Regions from separate parts of the Homo sapiens genome. Here regions 1, 2 and 3 are each linked to region 4. The links are contacts of gene promoters, found by promoter capture Hi-C in human tissues and cell types (Jung and others, 2019). All regions are on one chromosome and are shown on one strand. The core of a region is centred on a gene start or on the middle of the fragment in contact, and the rest is flanking DNA. Distances in the headings are between cores, read along the strand shown.

Region 1 (2,905 bases), core at 42-2,541, 300 kb after region 4:
GTAGCACAAGATGGCGTTGCTCTGGGTGATCTTGTGAGCCCCATCAATCAAGTAGGGCAGCTGGATGGATGGGAAACCGGCGAAGCTCAGTTGGGCCACCAGGCTCCCCAGCATCCCCTTCCCATAAGCAAGAGCAGAGAGGAGACCGGGCACTCACTGTGCCTGCTCATGGCAGGACTGAAATAAGAATACTGTCACATGAACGAATGCAGGTGGACACAGAACATCATGGAAGGACTGTTTAGACAGCCAGGAGTGAGAGGAATTGGGCAGAAGACTCCTGATCTTAACACCTCTAAGCTGGGGAGAGGAGATGCAGTCAGAGACACGTTGCACTTTCCCCCAAAACCGCCCCTTCCCCTGCACCTACATTGGGAAAGTCCAGGCCCAGCTTGAATTTTTCATTCAGCCACTGGCTTCTGTCATAATCAGGAGCTGTGGTGGGGAAGAAGAAGTGAAAACAAACCTCCCCAGAGCCCAGCCCTCCTTCCCGGGGACCCTCCCACGGAGCCAGTGGCAAGATCCCTGAGACAGGTGGATCTAGAATCTGACCACTCAGTCCCACATCCCAGGGTTCAGGGACAAAGAATCCCGCTGAGGGCTCTGGACCCCACACAGCTAAGGCTTCCAGGGTTTAGGCAAGCCCTGAGGGACACCCGTCCCAATTAGACAGGGGGCCCAGCATCCCACCCCAGCATTCTGCCTTGCAAGGCCAGAGGGCTCCCTCACCGGGGCTCAGGGAAGAGACAGCCTGCAGCTCCAGCAGGGGAGGCCTGCAGAGGCAGCCACAGGTGGCCACCATGGGTTGCTTGGTGCCAACTTAGCGTGAGTGGGCAGAGCCCGAACACGAGGGTGCCATTACCGTCCCCCATCGTGTACTTCTTTTCCTCATAGCTTGAGTCTGTGTATTCCAGGAGCAGGCGGATGGCGTGGGCCAGCTGGGAGAGATGGCCCGCAGGTCGCGTCAGAGATGGAGGGTCCCTGACTTTGTCTGCACCAGGGAAGCCCCCAGTTTACACTGCACGTACCCGTTGCCTCCTCTACCCGCCCACACCCCCAACACACACACAGCGGCATGCACAGGCCCTTCTGAGGCGGGCAGCCCTGAAGAGGAACGGTCCCTAGAGTCCGTCCCGCAGCTGCTTCGCACTTCCCTCCCCTGCGCCCTCGTCCCACCGTCCAGCGGACCCTCGCTCACCCCGCGGATGTCCCAGTACCCCAGTATCATGGGCATGGTGCTGGTTGGTGCGGATTCCGCAGACAGGCCTAAACCGAGCAGGGCTCAGAGTATAAGAGCTCCGGAGAGGGGACAGGCGGGGCCTTGCTGCGACCCCGCCCCTCGGCCCGCCACAACCCGAAAGGCGCCATTCTGGAGGCCCGGGAGAGGGCGCCTGGGGCTGCACTCAGTAAGACTTCCTCCCGCCTCCCAGGCCCGAGGGTTCCGGGAGCGAAGTCAGGGCGCCCAGAAGCCCAAGGCGGGGCTCGGCCTCGCCAGCTTCCCTACCCAGCCCTGAGGCTCCACGAGTCCATCCAGCCCTTGCTAGGTCCACAGCGACTTGGCTGTGCGCTTGAGACACCAGCCAGATCCTAACGGAGCAAAGCTCTTCTCCCTTCTCCTCCCTGCCCGCGGTGTCCCTCAGCCTTCTCTCCGCTGCCGAGTTCCCAAGGGCTCTGGGAGACTCCGGCTGCAGGGGTCAGACTAAAAAGTGGTGGCCCCAACCTGGGAATTTAATTCAGCCCCTGTCACTGTAAGAGCAGGACTTCCTCTGATCCGAAAGCTACTCCCAGGGCTTAGTCTCCCCTCTAGCCCCGCCTACACAGGAACAGTGTCAGTGGTATAGGAAGGACCCCCAGGAAAAGGGCCAGAGTAAAGGAAATGTGGTCTGTGTTTTCTGTTAGGGGCCCTCGGGTACTGAGTCCTTCGGTCATCTGGCTAAGTACTGTGTAAATTAGCCACTTCGTATTTTGGCACAATTTATGAATCGAAATCCAAGGATCAGATCCAGCAAGTTGGTGAGGTATCTGAGGTGCCCCCTAGAAATGTCCAGCCAGTCCACTAGGTGAACCTCACAGAGACCGGAACAGCAACAGCAACAGTGAGTGCAGTGGCCACAGAGAGCAGGCGAGGGAGGATGGAAGAACTTCCCGGACCAAACTGAGGGTCCGGCTGCTATTTCTCTAGGCCCAATAACGAGATGCAGATCAAATGGGGAGGAAGAGAGGTTTTATTTCTGCAACCGGTAACAGGGAGAAGGCCTAGAAATTACCACCAGACCAACTCAATATTACAAAGTTTTCCAGAGCATATATACCTTCTAAGGTATATGTCTACAAGTAAGTGTGCATTCATCTAAAGACATAAGTGATTAACTTCTTTAATCTGTAACTGAGGTCTGGGTCCTGAGGACCTTATTCTGGAGCCTCAGTCTATTTATTTAATCTAAATGGGTCCAGGTGCGGGGGATGATTACCCTTATCTTGTCTCCTGCTAAATCACGGAGGTTTGGGGAGTTCCTTCAGACGCCCAATAAACTTGTTTGTGGAGGCCTGGGGAGTTTCTTCAGACTCACAATAAAACTTGTTTAATTCTAAATAGGTCCTGTTAAGAATTCCTTCATTGTTTTGTCATGCTTTAAGGCCCAGGAAAGGCCTAAGCAAAACTCTTGGTGGGCTTTTGTTACATCCAGCCTCTGTATAAAGGTACTGGCTTTTTTCAGCTTTTAATATTTAACTTCACCACTCAGTCAGTACTGAAACAGTTGTTATGGAGGCCTGTGTTAGTGACGCCTGGCCTGCCACAGAACCTGTCCCTCAGAGAAGCCAGAACCCTGTCCTGCTGAGGAGGGAGGTCAGAGGATGGTGGCCAGAGAGGAGCCTGAGGGCTCCCCACAGGACCACAGGCAGG
Region 2 (3,028 bases), core at 467-2,966, 260 kb after region 4:
AGGGGACTCCTTGCTTCTAGTGAACAAGGGCCCTGAGCTTTTAGAGTCCTTCATATTTATTGAGTAAAGGAGATAGGGAGAAGGGGATGGTTGTGGTCAGCTGCTTGACTTAGTGCAGGTCTGCATGACTGCATTATTTGAACAGTAGGCTCCAGATGTCCCAGTAGATAACCTCAAGGAGCACGGCACCAGGGAGTGATTACTCTCAGCATACCTTCTGGCGGCAGGCACAGATGCAAGTTTGCTCACATTCTGTATTCATGATAAACAGTTTGCTGTTTGATCATATAGCCTTCAGTGGAATGCTGAGTGGGTCACAACCCTCAGGCTTTCGGTTCCCAACACAATAATAATCTGTTTTCATTTGTAACAGGACACAGTTGGAGAAACTGGTTATTTTACCAAAGCTTTAACTTGAATGGTATGCTTTCCTTTAAGGAATCAAACTTGATTTATGGAGCCAATAAAGCCACTTGGGAAACTGGACTCATAGTTTTGTCCACCTGTGGTAGGTAAAGAATGTCACTTTCTGACAGGCCCAGGAGCCCCAAGTTTACTTTGGAACCTCAAGGGGAGAGGATCACCCAACTCATAGGTATTTAATGGCACAAATCCATGGCTGAGCTCAGCTTTAAAACAGTCTTATCTGAGATTCCTCCTGTGAACCCAGAAAATGTGAGACAAGTTCCAGAAAATCCGAGACAGGTCTGTCTTTCTTTCTTTCTTTCTTCCTTTCTTTCCCCTTCCCTTCCCTTCCCTTCCCTTCCCCTCCCTTCCCTTCCCTTCCCTTCCCTTCCTTTCTTTCATTTTTAGAGGGAGTTTTGCTCTGTCGCCCAGACTGGAGTGCAATGGCACAATCTCCGCTCACTGTAATCTCCACCTCCCAGGTTCAAGCGATTCTCCTGCCTCGGCCTACCAAGCAAGTAGCTGGGATTACAGGCATCTGCCACCATGCCCAGCTAAGTTTTGTATTTTTAGTAGAGACGAGGTTTCGCCATGTTGGCCAGGCTAGTCTTGGACTCCTCATCTCGGGTGATCCGCCTGCCTCAGCCTTTCAAAGTGCTGGGATTACAGGCGTGAGCCACCGTGCCCAGCCAGGTCTCAGTTAATTTAGAAAGTTTGTTTTGCCAAGGTTGAGGATGAATACCGGTGGCACAGCCTCAGGATGTCCTGACAACATGTGCCGCAGGTGTTCAGGGCACAGCTTGATTTTATACATTTTAGACAGACATGAAACATCAATTAATATGTATAAAGAACTACATTGGTTTGGTCTGGAAAGGTGGGACAACTTGAAGCACCCACCTGCTTCGAGTTGTCCAGCCTTTCTGGATGGAACCAATGTGCTTTTTACATATATTGATAAGCCATAGCTTTTATATATATTTACAAACCAAGCTGTGCCCCGACCATCTTGGGGACATGTTGTCAAGGACTTTCTGAGACCGTGTCATGGCCACATCCTCCACCTTGGCAAAATAAACTTTCTGATTTAACTTGGACCTCTCCCAGATTTTCTGGGTTTACAAGTTCATGGTCTGGCTTATTTCTTCCTTGCTTAGGCCAAATTGAAATGAAACATTTCTGAAAACTAACAGGGATTGGCTCTTAATGTTCTTATGGGGTTTACAATGGAAATAATTACAGATAACTGACACGTGAGACTTAAATCTGGAAGAAAAGATTAAATGGGTGTGGGTATATTTGAATTTTAAATGAATAGGTGCTTCTGTGTGGCCTGACTTGGAGACAGCGGGCCAACCTAGTGTTCGCAGGAGATGTTTTCCATGATGCAAAATAATAGGAATAGAACACACCAGCTAATAATGTTCATGTTGTATTGGAAGTTTGAAGGAAAATTAGAATTATTAAATAGGCCTGTACTTTATCTTCTGTAGTACAACACTTTCAATTATATTAACAGATACTCTTTTTGAACTGTGACCAAGACCCTATCTGCTTCTTTCCAAAATTATGTTTCAGGCCGCACGCAGTGGCTTATGCATGTAATCCCAGCATTTTGGGAGGTGGAGGGAGGCAGAGGCAGGCAAATCACTTGAGCCCAGGAGTTCAAGACCAGCCTGGGCAACATGGCAAAACCCCATCTCTACAAAATACAGGAAAAAAAATTAGCCAGGCATGGTGGCATGTGCCTGTAGTCCCAGCAACCCAGGAGGCTGACGTGGAAGGATCACCTGAGCCCAAGGAAGTCAAGGCTGCAGTGAGCCATGATTGCACTACTGCACTCCAGCTTGGGCGACAGAGCAAGACCTTGTCTAAAAAAAAAAAAAAAAATTATGTTTCAACTGGAAGAGAACTAAAGGTATGCAGGGAATGTAGGGTGTCTGTTGGGCCTTTTGGACAGAATATGCTTTGAGAGGATTTGTTGGGGCTATTCCAAAAGGCGGAGTCCTCTGTGGAAAACCAGATCTGTTTACAAGGAGTATGACAATTAACATTTGCAGAGAGAGTTGGTCCGGAACCCATCAGAATGGACCACTCTCGCTCACTGCTTCCAAGTCTCAGGTTACCATGTGGTAGTGGCCAGTCTGTCTCTGTGTCTCTGTCATCAGTAAGAGTTTCCCTCACCATTCCACACAAGCCACATGAGCCTAAAAAATGTAGGGTAACAAAGTGGGATGACAGTAAACCTGAGTGGGGTCACAGAGGGATGGAGACAAGAGCCAATCCAAGGAGTGACTTTGGGTTGTTCATATCAATGCTTAGTATATAAGTCTTATTACGCAATATCTCTTCAGAGTCCCTTCACCAAAGAAGTGCATTCTATAAGCATTGTAAATAAATGCAAAACAGCTTATTTGCAAATCTGAGTGCAGCCTGTTTTCTACTGTATCATATAGGCTTACCTAATTTTTCCCTTTTTTCCACTTCCCATTTCATTTGTTATTTTATAGAGGGTGAATTGGGGTTTGTTTTTACTCTTTCTTTCGTCCTTTATTATTATTTTTTTTTTTCAGAGATGAGGTCTCACTATGTTGCCCAGGCTAGAGTGCACTGATTATACACA
Region 3 (2,827 bases), core at 291-2,790, 280 kb after region 4:
TTGGCAGACACGATTATTTTAATCTCATCAGAGGAATCAGAATTAATGAGACCAGTATGAACTATGATACCTTTAGCAGAGGTGGATGCCCTACCTAACACCAGGCCCACCAAACCTTGAGGTAAAGGGCCAGTGGCCCCCGTGGGGACAATTAAAGGCAAAGAATTCGGTAGTAAATTTAGAGGAGTGGTACTACAGAGATTGACCGCCCTGCCCCCTACTGTGGAGGTAGACAAGCATTGTACTGAGACAGAAGAAGCGACTGGGACCCATCTGGGTTGGCTGTAGGTAAATTTGCTTGTGCTGGGGGCTGTATTGGGACCGCTTGAAGCAGAAACACAATATTGGTCTGAGTCTGAGGTGTCCCATTTGATACTGGGGCCTGGGACTGGCCCTGCTTCCCATTTCCCTGGTTCTGTGGCAAGGGATTGCCATCTATATCAGACTTAGAGTGGCAAGTACTTGCCCAGTGTTTACCTTTACGACAATGAGGGCAAACAGTAGCAGGAGCATTTGGCCATGTTTGTTGAGCTGGCTTGGCCGCTTTTAACAGTGCAATTTTTTTGGGTATGATGAAGTTGACCACAATTATAGCAGGCTCCAAGAAAAGAATTCAGTCAAGCCAGTTTGATTGCCATCCTTCATGGCCCGTGCCCACAGAATAGCTTTGTGGGTCTCTGATCCAATGCTTTCACAAGCTTTAATATATGCAGGCACACCTCGTGATCAGGTAAATTTTGTCATTAGACAGAACGCATGACCACTTTACACTCATGGTTCGCATTCTCAAAAGCTAACATATGAAGGAGAATACCTTGAGCGTAATCATCAGAGACAGATTTTGAACAGCATCTTGTAATTTAGCCAAAAAATCAGGATGTAATTCACTGCGACCCTGTTTAACAGTAGTAAAAGAAACAGGAGCTTGGCCTGGGGCACCTAGTTTATCCCAAACTCTCATACACAACTTTGTTACTTGTTCCGTGGTGAGAGCGTCAAAGTCTAATTGGGCGGTAGTGTCAGAGTGATTATCAGAGCCTGTGAGCTGAGCCTGAGTAATTAGAATGCCATCAACCCAATTTAGCTGAGCCTGCAGACGGGCCTCCTCTGACCACCAGGTACAGAATTGTAAATGCTGAGATGGAGTTAGAACAGCTTTCGCCAAAAGGTCCCATTCTGAAGGAAGCAAAATGACCTCAGTACAAAGAGTCTGTAATGCCATTTTAACATATGGAGAAGCAGGACCATACTGAGCACAAGCATCCTTGAATTCTTTTGAAAAGGTAAGATTGAGCAGTGCATATCAACGCATTTGTACCCCTTGAGCATTGGGAGGTTCCAGCGTGACCGGATAAGCCCACACCTCTAATCCACTTGTTTCTTTGTTCTGGCGTAATAAGCATTGCATGGAAGTTTCAAGAGCAGGCACATGAGATGGAGTTGGCATAGAAGTGACAGTAAAAGTATGTGTAGATAAGGGAAACTGAGGTTCAGGAGGTCAGACCAGTATGAGAGTGTGAGAAAGGGGCATTGGGGGAGCAGAAGAGACAGAAGCATACTGGTGATTATTGGGAAATCCTGTGCAACCAGAGTGGCAGGGGCGTCCATGTGTGAAGAAGGGTACAGAGAAGCAGGTTGAGTGAATGGCAAAGTGACTGGTTGAGGGACCGAAATGACAGGAGGGTGAGGGGCTGCGGTGGGGGAGGGCCTGCAGAATTACAGGTAAATTGTAGTTTGGTCTGGAGCCATTAGATGGCTCTGGAGGCAAAGCCTGCAAAGATTTGAAAAGGGAAGAGTTAGCATAGATATGGTGCAGAGCTGTCCGAGTCAGGGCCATGGGAGCTACAAGTATCAGGTCTTCATGAAAAGAAATAAGACCATCGGGGGTGACATTAAGCCAAAGTCACCGGAGTTAGATATTGAATCCTCAATATCGTTAGGTGGGGGAGGAGTAGGCGAAGGGAGAGGCTGAGCAGATAATGAAGCCCGAGTGGGAGAGGAAAGCTGTGGAAGAGGTAGAAGGTCGCCAGATTCAGAAAACTGTGGTAACTGCAGGGGGTCACGGGATTGGTATGTCGTTAGGATGGCACATACCAAGGCCCAATCACCCCAAACAGTGAAGGGAACATAATTTCCTGATGGGATCAGTTCCTGGAATTTTGCACCAACGCGATCCCATAGTTCCACATCTAATTTTCCCTTTTCAGGAAACCAAGGACAGTGTTCTTCCAACACCCTGAATAGGGTGACCATATTTTCCATGGGCACCCAAACTCCACCCTGTTTTAACAGGAGTTTAATATAGCAGAGATAAGCATAATATTTAGACTCCATGTGACCCATAGTTACCCGAGACAATACATAGAAAATTCACCAATCATCAGGGAGCCGAACAAGCGTTTCTGAGGACTGGACTGATGATCGTTTCTCCACACCTACCAAAGGGAATCAGGTTCCCACATGCACTTAGGAAAAAGAAAACCATGTTGGTGCACCAGATATTGGGGGAACCTGCCCCCAGTATTTCAATGTAGGTTCTTTCTACTTTCCATAAGTGTCGGCTGGCTGAGAAATAAAGAGAAAGAGTACAAAGAGAGGAATTTTACAGCTGGGCTGCTGGAGGTGACATCACATATCAGTGGGACCGTAATGCCCGCCCGAGCCTCAAAACCAGCAAGTTTTTATTAAGGATTGCAAAAGGGGAGGGGGTGTACGAACAGGGGGTAGGTACGAAGATCACATGCTTTAAAGGGCAAAAAGCAGAACAAAGATCACATGCTTCTGAGGAAACAGGACAAGGGCAAAATAGAACTCCTGATAAGGGTCT
Region 4 (2,981 bases), core at 243-2,742:
CTTGCTTTGTTCAGCCCTGCATCCCATTAAACACTGGATGCAGGCAGAGACAGCTTTGTAAGACTCTGTCTTTATAAAGAAGGGAGACATTTATCTGGGTTCTCACTGGCTTCAGGAAGGTCACCTCTTTGTAAAGGTTCTCTGGTCTACTGCTAACTGGGTGCCAGGTGTATGGAAAATCAAGATGTGGTTGGCAGTAAATGATGAGAAAGCAATAAGGATCCCAATTCCACCACTCGGAGAGCTAGTCAGACTAAAATCTCCAAAGGTTGCCATTTATGAGAGAATTCGAAGGGTGTCCTTTGAGTCAACCTACAGCACAATAGATCAAACTTGTTCTGCCTCAAAAGTACAGTCAAGAGTGAGCAATCTTCCCTTACCACCCACTACTCCAACCCACCCAAGCTCCTTTCTCCAGGGATGCCTAAGTGATCTATTCACATGACTCTAGGATCCACCTGTATCCATGACAGTGTCTGCTGTCACCAACCTCCAAATGTCAATTTCTTACATATTTCGAAGTAATTGGAATGCTGTAGAAAGTGAAAATCATAGATTTTCAGTTTCATGTTACCCTCATCGCTTTCACCTGTATATCAGAGCTAGCTTCACGCATTCTTTTCTCTTGCCTCCCAGCTATCACGCAGTTGTTGGATAAAGCGGCCACTGCTCCCAAAGATTTGATGGAAGTTCTGCCAGATTTACCCACTCACCTGAAGGGAGATTTTCTGTACACCCCATGCCCCCGGACTGGTCACAAGGGTCAGCTGAGTTGGTTCACCCCCTCCCACTCTCGTCTTCGAGGCCCTTCATCCAGGAAAAGTCAGTCGCAAATTTAAGGCCTGGCCCTGTCGGGTTTCAAAACGATCCCGGAGGACTTGGGCCGAGGGACAAAGGAAAGCGAGGTCAGAGGCGGCCTTTCAGCCCGGGAGAGGCCTGGGGCCGCACAGCCGCCACCCCCTACATCACCTCCGCCGTCCCCAGTCACCCCCAGAAGTCCCAAACTAGCCAGAGCCCGGGCTTGCTCGCGTCCCTTCCGCGAGGCCGGAGCCCGAGCCCCCGCCGCCACCCAGAGCCCCCGCACCTTCTTGGGCGCCTTGGTGACGGTGGCCATGAAGGAGTACTTCTCGGCGTCCTCGATCTCCTTGGCCTGCTTCAGCTCCTCCCCGACCCCGGGCAGCGGCATCGCGTCAGGCATCGACATTCCCCGGCCGGCCCGGCCAGCGGCTGACCCGCCGCCCCCGCCTCTTTCCCCCTCTGGCGCCCGCCCGCCTGCCCGCGCGGCGCCCTCCGACACGCGATCGCCCACCCTCCTGCCGGCCCCTGCGTCGAGCTGCGTCGGCTTCTGAGGTGCTGTGGCCCACGCCTTGTCTGTTCGGCAGCCCAAGGCAGCCGGACAGCGACGGCGGCCACAAGAGAACCAGAACAGCAGCTCCGAGCTCCGACCTGCCCGCGCCGCCACCTCCGCTGTACGCAAACACGCACGCAAAGCGAGGGTAGAGGGCGGTGACGCCACGTCAAGTACTGGCAGCTCCCGGGAGGGGGAAGAGGCGGGGAGAAAGGGCACTCTGTCGTGACGTCACCACGCTGGGCTGGGCCACAGAAGCCGTTCCTCTCCCGCTCGAGAGCGAAGTTCCCAGGGTGAGCAGGACCCTTTGTGCCACCAGGTGGCACCATCAGCCCTGGGAGCAGCGCGAGGTTCATGCAACGATGCTGCGGAACGGAGGGTCTTTGGGCTGCGGGGTTCCTGGCAAGGCCTCAGAGGCGCATGAAAGGGGTGTTTGGGAGCAAAGACCAGAGCCCCACACGACACATCCTACAGCGATTCCTAGGAAATGTCCGGGGCTCGAGACAGCCCACTCACTCACTGGCCCAGCCCCAGGCCCTTTGGATTAAAGCTCCTTCCCAAGGGGCCGTGCCTGTCTTTTTGACTTCATAGGGGGCAGAACTGACTCAGAGTAGTCTGGTTTCTGCACAACGCTTTGTGACTTCCTCCACCACCATCTCCGACTGGGCCTTGCCTGTTTACAAAACCCTCATTGGGATAGGGCTGATGGGTATGAGGGTGGAGACCAGGAGAGCTGATGGAGAAGTCCCCAGCCAGAATGGCCTTCCGGTCCTTGCTCCACCAAAGCATTAGACCCTTCCAGCTCTCAGTGGGCATCCAGGACATTCATGGACTGCTCACACCCTTTTACTGGGCCTACTATGTGCAGTGCCTGTGCTGAGGCCCTGCTGGCAAAAGGACATGTGACGCATTTTATGTTTTGCAAGGCTTAGTTCAGCTGGAGAGGCAAAACCTGCTTGTATCCTAATGTCAGCTGAGGTAGCTTGTCCTTTGAGATTCAAATGACATTGGCTCCAATTACCATGTCCTGTGGAAAGTCCATTACTGGGAGGACTTGGATTTTCATGGTCACCTCTGGCTCTAGTTTTTTTGCCTTGTCTGGCATTTTATTCACTATTCTGGTCTTGTGACTGTTTCTGTAGCTCCTGGGGTCAATTCAGCCGCTTCTCCTTTCAACCCCCACCCCATGCTAAACAACTACAAAATAAGGCTGTAACATGTAGTAAAACTTTTAATAAAGGTTTGTGGGTCACAGGGGAGAGATTACATCACACAGCAAACAATTTAAGAACACATTTCTGAAATGTTCTGAAAAGTTATTTTGGCTGTCTTACCACCCGGGGATTTCTCAATGGCCACAAGATCCCACCACGCTCCCTAGCCCATTGCCATCTAATCTAGCTTCCTCCTGTTCCTCCCTTCCCATCTCTGCACCTCATCCTTCCTTCCTTGATAGACTCTGGGAAGCCAGATTCTCCTCTGCTGTGCTGAGCAATTCCAGTCTTCCCAGTGCCCTTTCCCTAAATTCCTCCCCAGGACCACCTTTTTTTTTTTTTTGAGATGACGTCTCGCTCTGTTGCCCAAGCTGGAGTGCTCTCAGCTCACTGCAACCTCCGCCTGCCGGGTTCAAGTG

Evidence for each region. Contacts are between HindIII fragments. The study calls those that stand out against the background at their distance.
Region 1: the fragment with the promoter of GSTM1 here is called in contact with the fragment with the promoter of AHCYL1 in region 4 in 1 of the 25 tissues and cell types used here (mesenchymal stem cells).
Region 2: a contact is called between a fragment that was not itself captured here and the fragment with the promoter of AHCYL1 in region 4, in 1 of the 25 tissues and cell types used here (lymphoblastoid cells).
Region 3: a contact is called between a fragment that was not itself captured here and the fragment with the promoter of AHCYL1 in region 4, in 1 of the 25 tissues and cell types used here (heart right ventricle).

What each region holds. Positions count from the first base shown.
Region 1 is chr1:109,686,203-109,689,107 of GRCh38, reverse strand. It overlaps GSTM1 (glutathione S-transferase mu 1), which reads right to left and starts at 1,291. Exons shown (of 8, transcript NM_000561.4): 1 at 1,199-1,291; 2 at 863-938; 3 at 371-435; 4 at 1-60. The coding sequence starts at 1,234. RefSeq lists an enhancer at 1,192-1,241. The HindIII fragment of the contact is 14,943 bases long and covers 1-2,905 here.
Region 2 is chr1:109,722,833-109,725,860 of GRCh38, reverse strand. No RefSeq gene overlaps it. Among named protein-coding and RNA genes, the nearest start is that of GSTM5, 12 kb to the right of the region's middle. The HindIII fragment of the contact is 5,225 bases long and covers 1-3,028 here.
Region 3 is chr1:109,703,318-109,706,144 of GRCh38, reverse strand. No RefSeq gene overlaps it. Among named protein-coding and RNA genes, the nearest start is that of GSTM5, 7.5 kb to the left of the region's middle. The HindIII fragment of the contact is 8,634 bases long and covers 1-2,827 here.
Region 4 is chr1:109,983,276-109,986,256 of GRCh38, reverse strand. AHCYL1 (adenosylhomocysteinase like 1) reads right to left here and starts at 1,492. Exons shown (of 17, transcript NM_006621.7): 1 at 1,085-1,492. The coding sequence starts at 1,204. RefSeq lists silencers at 947-1,016, 1,197-1,266. The HindIII fragment of the contact is 16,487 bases long and covers 1-2,981 here.